Regions from separate parts of the Homo sapiens genome. Here region 2 is linked to region 1. The links are contacts of gene promoters, found by promoter capture Hi-C in human tissues and cell types (Jung and others, 2019). All regions are on one chromosome and are shown on one strand. Each heading gives the region's core, a stretch centred on a gene start or on the middle of the fragment in contact. The rest is flanking DNA. Distances are from core to core; before and after follow the strand shown.

The links. Contacts are between HindIII fragments. The study calls those that stand out against the background at their distance.
Region 2: the fragment with the promoter of SERPINE1 here is called in contact with a fragment that was not itself captured in region 1 in 7 of the 25 tissues and cell types used here (H1 embryonic stem cells, aorta, bladder and 4 more).

The regions. Positions count from the first base shown.
Region 1 is chr7:101,273,030-101,276,063 of GRCh38, reverse strand. No RefSeq gene overlaps it. Among named protein-coding and RNA genes, the nearest start is that of LNCPRESS1, 25 kb to the left of the region's middle. The HindIII fragment of the contact is 4,444 bases long and covers 1-3,034 here.
Region 2 is chr7:101,125,646-101,128,679 of GRCh38, reverse strand. SERPINE1 (serpin family E member 1) reads right to left here and starts at 1,576. Exons shown (of 9, transcript NM_000602.5): 1 at 1,436-1,576; 2 at 16-287. The coding sequence starts at 286. RefSeq lists enhancers at 1-360, 361-1,140, 1,921-2,700. The HindIII fragment of the contact is 16,005 bases long and covers 1-3,034 here.

The DNA.
Region 1 (3,034 bases), core at 217-2,716:
AGGCAACAAGACCAAGGGGAAAAGCCCACACACTAAGGATGGCAGAGCCTACGTCCTCTATGAGAGCGTTGAGCCACCATACCTATCCTGGACCCCCCACTTCCAGTCTCTGATCTGTAAGTCACGTGTCTTTATTTTCTAGGCAGATTTCTGCTATTGCAGCCTAAAGCATCCCTCACCCCTTCTCAGAAACCCGTGGCTCTTGCTATAACTCCCAGTGGAAAATCAACCTAAGTTTAGACATTAGAAATGGAATTATTGCTTATATGGAAGGAATAAGAATCAGGATTGGTCCTTGCCTACAGAGGAATCCCAGCTCTGAGTCCTAACCCCAAGGCCTAGGGGACACAGACAAGGAAAGAAAGAGATATCTGGGAAAGTTCCAGACATCTTCTTTTTTTTTTTTTTTTTTTTTTTTTTTTTTTTTGTCTCACTGTCGCCTAGGCTGGAGTGCAATGGCACAATCTTGGCTTACTGCAACCTCCGCCTCCCGGGTTCAAGTGATTCTCCTGCCTCAGTCTCCTGAGCAGCTGGAATTACAGGCATGCACCATCACACCCAGCTAATTTTTGTATTTTTAGTAGAGACGGAGTTTCACCATGTTGGTCAGGCTGGTCTTGAACTCCTAACCTCGTGATCCACCTGCCTCAGCCTCCCAAAATGCTGGGATTTCAGGCATCAGCCACCGTGCCCGGCCTCTTTCTGGCTTCTCTAAGCAGAGCGAGGAGCCAGAAATCTGCAAAACCTAACTCACCTCTATTAAGAACTCAATGGGAGAGTTACTGTAGGGAGAGGCAAGAATGTATTTTGGAAGACTTAGAATGCTGGTCCAAGGACAAGGAACGAGGCTGGTAGGAGAGAAGCAATCAGTTGATGAGGATTAGAGAAAGCTTTCTTCTGGTCCGACTTTCGCCAAACAACGCGTTGTGTGTGTGTGTGTGTGTGTGTGTGTGTGTGTGTGTGTGTGTTGCTTCAACACAAGACATATGCCTGATTCTTCCCTTATGAAATGAGAAGCTGAATGCAAGAGCTCTAGCCCGTCCTCTTTAAATCTCTGTTTTTGAAAATATAAAACAAAGATAAACTGGCATCCTCCTAATGTATCTTTGAAATACACATTACTGGCCAGGCGCGGTGGCTCACGCCTGTAATCCCAGCACTTTGGGAGGCCTACGTGGGCGGATCACGAGGTCAGGAGATCAAGACCATCCTGGCTAACACGGTGAAACGCTGTCTCTACTAAAAATACAAAAAATTAGCTGAGCGTGGTGGCGGGCGCCTGTAGTCCCAGCTACTGGGGAGGCTGAGGCAGGAGAATGGCGTGAACCCGGGAGGTGGAGCTTGCGGTGAGCCAAGATCGTGCTACTGCACTCCAGCCTGGGTGACAGAGCAAGACTCTGTCTCAAAAAAAAAAAAAGAAAGAAAGAAATACACATTACTTCATTTTTCTCAGACCTGGAGAAAAAGCACCCCCAGCCCCATTTTCCCATCTCCAAATAATCTTCAGCATTTGTAGAGATGTGGCCCCTGGAAGTTCATCAGATATATGGGGCCCACCCACGCGTGTGTTGCGATGATATTAGAATTTGCAACTGCCAGATTCTGGCACCAAACCCAGCACCTCTCAATACTGTCCTGCACCCCACATATTGTATGATTTTTTGTTTTTTTGTTTTTTTTTTTTGAGATGGAGTCTCGCTCTGTTGCCCAGGCTGGAGTGCAGAGGCATGATCTCGGCTCACCACAACCTCCGCCTCCTGGGTTCAAGAGATTTTCCTGCCTCAGCCTCCTGAGTAGCTGGGACTATAGGCATGTGCCACCATGCCCGGCTAATTTTTGTATTTTTAGTAGAGACAGGGTTTCACTATGTTGGCCAGGCTGGTCTCGAGCTCCTGACCTCGTGATCCACCCGCTTCAGCCTCCCAAAGTGCTGGAATTACAGGCATGAGCCACCACACCCGGCTTGTATGACGTTTTGAAGGGCAAAGCCAATGCACCATTGATGTTTGCCTGTTGCTTCATTCACTCAATAGAGATGTAAGGAATGAAAGCTTTGATTGGGGTGAAAGAAGTAAAAAAGTTTAAACCCCTACTTTAATGGGATTAATGCTTTAATGTGAATATTAATAAACCCTGAACTCCTCCAGCAAGTTTCTCTATATATCACTGAGGATTCTGTGAAATCCAATAAGGAAAAAAACTGGAAGACTTTTTCCCCTTCTTCGTCATCAAGGTTTTTCTCGGGGATGAATTGGCCTGATTAGTGCCTGAAAGTTCTCCCACGATCTGTCCAAGCTCATTCCTTTTTTTGTGTGAATTCTCCAATGATGAAAAAGCTAAGCTTGTCCCCAAGTGATTTTCCACACTAATTATACTCCCGAGGCTTCTCTCCAGTGTGGATGATCTCACATTCCGTATTCTCCACGCTTCCCCGAGTTTTCCGTCTTCATTACGTATGACCATTTTAAGTCCCAACTGAATTAGCTGATATTGTCTAAGTATGGAACTCTGATTGAAGGTTCTTCCTCATCCATTATACTCACAAGGCCTCTCTCTGCTACAAAATCCCAGATGTCTGATTAGCTCTGGGCACCATCTCAAAGCATTTTTACATCCATTACGCACATATGATTTTCCTCCATTGTGAATTCTCCGATGTTGAATGAGCTGTACTTTCCCGAAAGCTCTTTGCACGTTTCTGCATTGATAGAGTCTTTGTTGCATCTGAATTAGCTGATGCTGCATTGGAATGTTGACAATGCCTCCCCCATCCCCAGGGATTCTCTCCAAAATAAATGTTACAGTGTTCAATAGCATGGAAGCCCCAGGGAAAATTGCCTATATAAATGACAAAGATGTTCTCTGTGATACAAACACTGTAATATTGAATAAATTCTAAATTCTGTTGCACAACTTGGCCATATCTTATTTGGAGTTTCTCTCACTTCTAAAACATGTAAATGGGATCATGGATTTTTTCTGTATTCGTGGCACTCAATGGGATGGGGTCCCTAAAATGGTTCTCCACAATGTC
Region 2 (3,034 bases), core at 327-2,826, 150 kb after region 1:
TGTCCCGTGGCTCACCATCAATCTTGAATCCCATAGCTGCTTGAATCTGCTGCTGGGTTTCTCCTCCTGTTGTCAGCTGGAGCATGGCCAACACCGAGGCCACCCCATAGGGTGAGAAAACCACGTTGCGGTCCTTGGAGGCCTGCGCCACCTGCTGAAACACCCTCACCCCGAAGTCTGAGGCCAGGTGGGCCACGTAGGATGGGGGATGGTGCACAGCAGACCCTTCACCAAAGACAAGGGCCAGGCCCAGGACTAGGCAGGTGAGGGCTGGAGACATCTGCATCCTAGAGCAATGGAAAGAGGGCTGGTGAAGGAATCGTTCTGGAAGACAGGCGGGAGGGGAGGGGAGCTGGCCAGCTGTGGGCCCTGCTCTTCTTGTTTCCTGCAAGCAGGTGGTAAGTGAACACTAGGGCAAGGTGCAGGAAGAGACCATGACATGTTCAGGTTCTAAGCCCATCCCACTCCGTCTCACTCAGACTGACTTATCCCCGGGCAGTGGCAGGGAGTCTTCGCCCATCTTGCCCTGTGGGAATCTTGGAATCCAGTCCATCTCCCTTCCCTCTGTGTCCCGTAAAAAAGCCTTAGAAGAAAAGCAGGTGAGAAGTCATTACCACTCTCTGCCTTTGCAGCCCAGGGGGAATTTAGCCCAGACTCAATTATCAATTATCACAACATCTTTGATTTGCATAAGCTTTAAATTTGCTTTCTTTTCTTTTCTTTCTTTTCTTTCTTTCTTCCTCTTTCCTCTTTCTTTCTTTCTTTCTTCTTTACTTCCTTCCTTCTTTCCTCTCTCTCTTTCTCTCTCTTTCTTCCTTCCTTTCATTCATTTTTAGAGACAGGGTCTTGCTCTGTCACCCAGGCTGGGTGCAATGGCTCAGTCTTGGCTCCCTGCAGCCTCCGCCTCCCCAGCTGAAGCAATCCTCCCACCTCAGCCTCCCAAGTAGCTGGGAATACAGGCACACCAGCACGCCCAGCTAATTTTTGTATTTTTTTGGGAGAGCAGGGTTTTGCCATGTTGCCCAGGCTGGTCTCAAACTCCTGGGCTCAAGTTATCTGCCTGCCTCAGCCTCACAAAGTGCTGGGATTACAGGCATGAGCCACAGTGCCCAGCCTTAATTCTCTTAATGCTTTCCCAGCGATTGTTTCATTCAAGTTAGCAGGCATGAGGTGGGAAATGGGTAAGTGTCTTGATGCAGAGGGACTGAGAGAGTCAAGGTTCTTGTTACTGGGTGATGGGGTTGTTGGTGACGCCTGACCATCCTCCCTGCTCTCCTGCAGTCACCCCTAGGGCAGGGTCGACCCAAGGCTGCAGGTCCGAGGAAAAGAAAATAGAGGAATAGCGGGGGATCATGGAGGGAGGAGATTCTGGGGAGGCGAGTTCTCTGCCTTAAGCCCGAAGTAAGAGGTTGGAGGGAGTTTGCTTTTCTCCTACCTGAAGTTCTCAGAGGTGCCTTGCGATTGGCGGTTCGTCCTGCTCTGGCGGCGGCTGCTGAGCTGCAGGAATTCAGCTGCTGGAGGGGGGCGTGTGGGTCTTCTTGACAGCGCTCTTGGCCCTGCAGCCAAACACAGCTGTGCTCCTCTGTGGGCCACTGCCTCCTTTTATACCAGATGTGGGCAGGAAATAGATGAACTCATGTTCCAGCCCCACCCACTCACTGGCTCTGGGAGTCCGTCTGAACAGCCAGCGGGTCCCCCTCGACACCTCCCTCTCTGGGACTTGCTGAGGCATGTGTGTGTGTGTGTGTGTGCTGCTCTGTGTGTGTACGTGTGTAAGAGCATTCAGGAACAATTGAGCAAACCCCAATAGCCTTGGCCTGAGAACCTCCCTTGACCTTTCTGCCCTCTGCCTGTGTCTGTCTCTCCCGGATGTCCTGCCAGGTTGACTGTCTGCCATGCCGGGTGACCCAAAAAGCCTAGGACCCCTAGTGTTCAGCTTGGAGAAAAAAAAAACAGCTCACGTTGCCTGCTTTTCCTTTGGCGAACCAGGTCACTGTGGAGTTATCAAAGATAACCTCCATCAAAACGTGGAAGTTTTCCCCCAGGGCTGTCCACCCGGTGCTCTGGACCACCTCCAGGAAAGAGCGCCCCTCCCTCCTCCTGGGCCCAGCCCAACAGCCACAGGGCATGCAGCCAGCCACGTGATTGTCTAGGTTTTGTCTGTCTAGGACTTGGGCCCAACAGAGGACTCTTGGTCTTTCCCTCATCCCTGCCATGTGCCCGGCCGCCTCCGATGATACACGGCTGACTCCCCACGTGTCCAGACTCTCTCTGTGCCCCTGAGGGCTCTCTTGTGTCAACAACCTTGTCTGGCTGAGGTTGGAGGTGTGCTGGGTGGGGTGGTGGTGGCTGAACGGGACCAGGGGTTACCATGGTAAAAGCTTGGTAAGGAAACAGGAGACCAACGTGTAAGTTTCACTTCTTCGAGCTGCCCGCTAGGACTTGGGGCAGCTTGTCCTTTATCCTCTTCCTCCAGACACAGACACAAGGGGAAAAGGGATAGAAACAGAGTGTCAATTCATGGCAGGTTTGCAGGGTGTGCTTTTAGGGCAAGGGGGTGAGGGGAGGAAGAGTGACCGATAGATTCTGTGGAGCAGTGGTCCTCAACGTTTTTGGCACCAGGGACTGGTTTCATGGAAGACAATTTTTTCACAGACCAGGGTGGGATGGTTTCGGGATGATTCAAGCACATTACATTTATTGTGTGCTTTATTTCTATTATTATTACATTGTAATATATATAATGAAATAATTCCACAATTCACCATCGTGTAGAATCAGTGGGAGCCCTGAGCTTGTTTTCCTGCAACTAGATGGTCCCATCTAGGGGTGATGGGAGACCGTGACAGATCATCAGGCATTAGATTCTCATAGGGAGCTTGCAACCTAGATCCCTCACATGAACAGTTTAGAATAGGGTTCGAGCTCCTATGAGAATCTAATGCCGCCGCTGATCTGACAGGGAGTGGAGCTCTGGTGGTAATGCGAGTGATGAGGAGTGGCTGTAACTACAGATGAAATTTCACTCACCTGC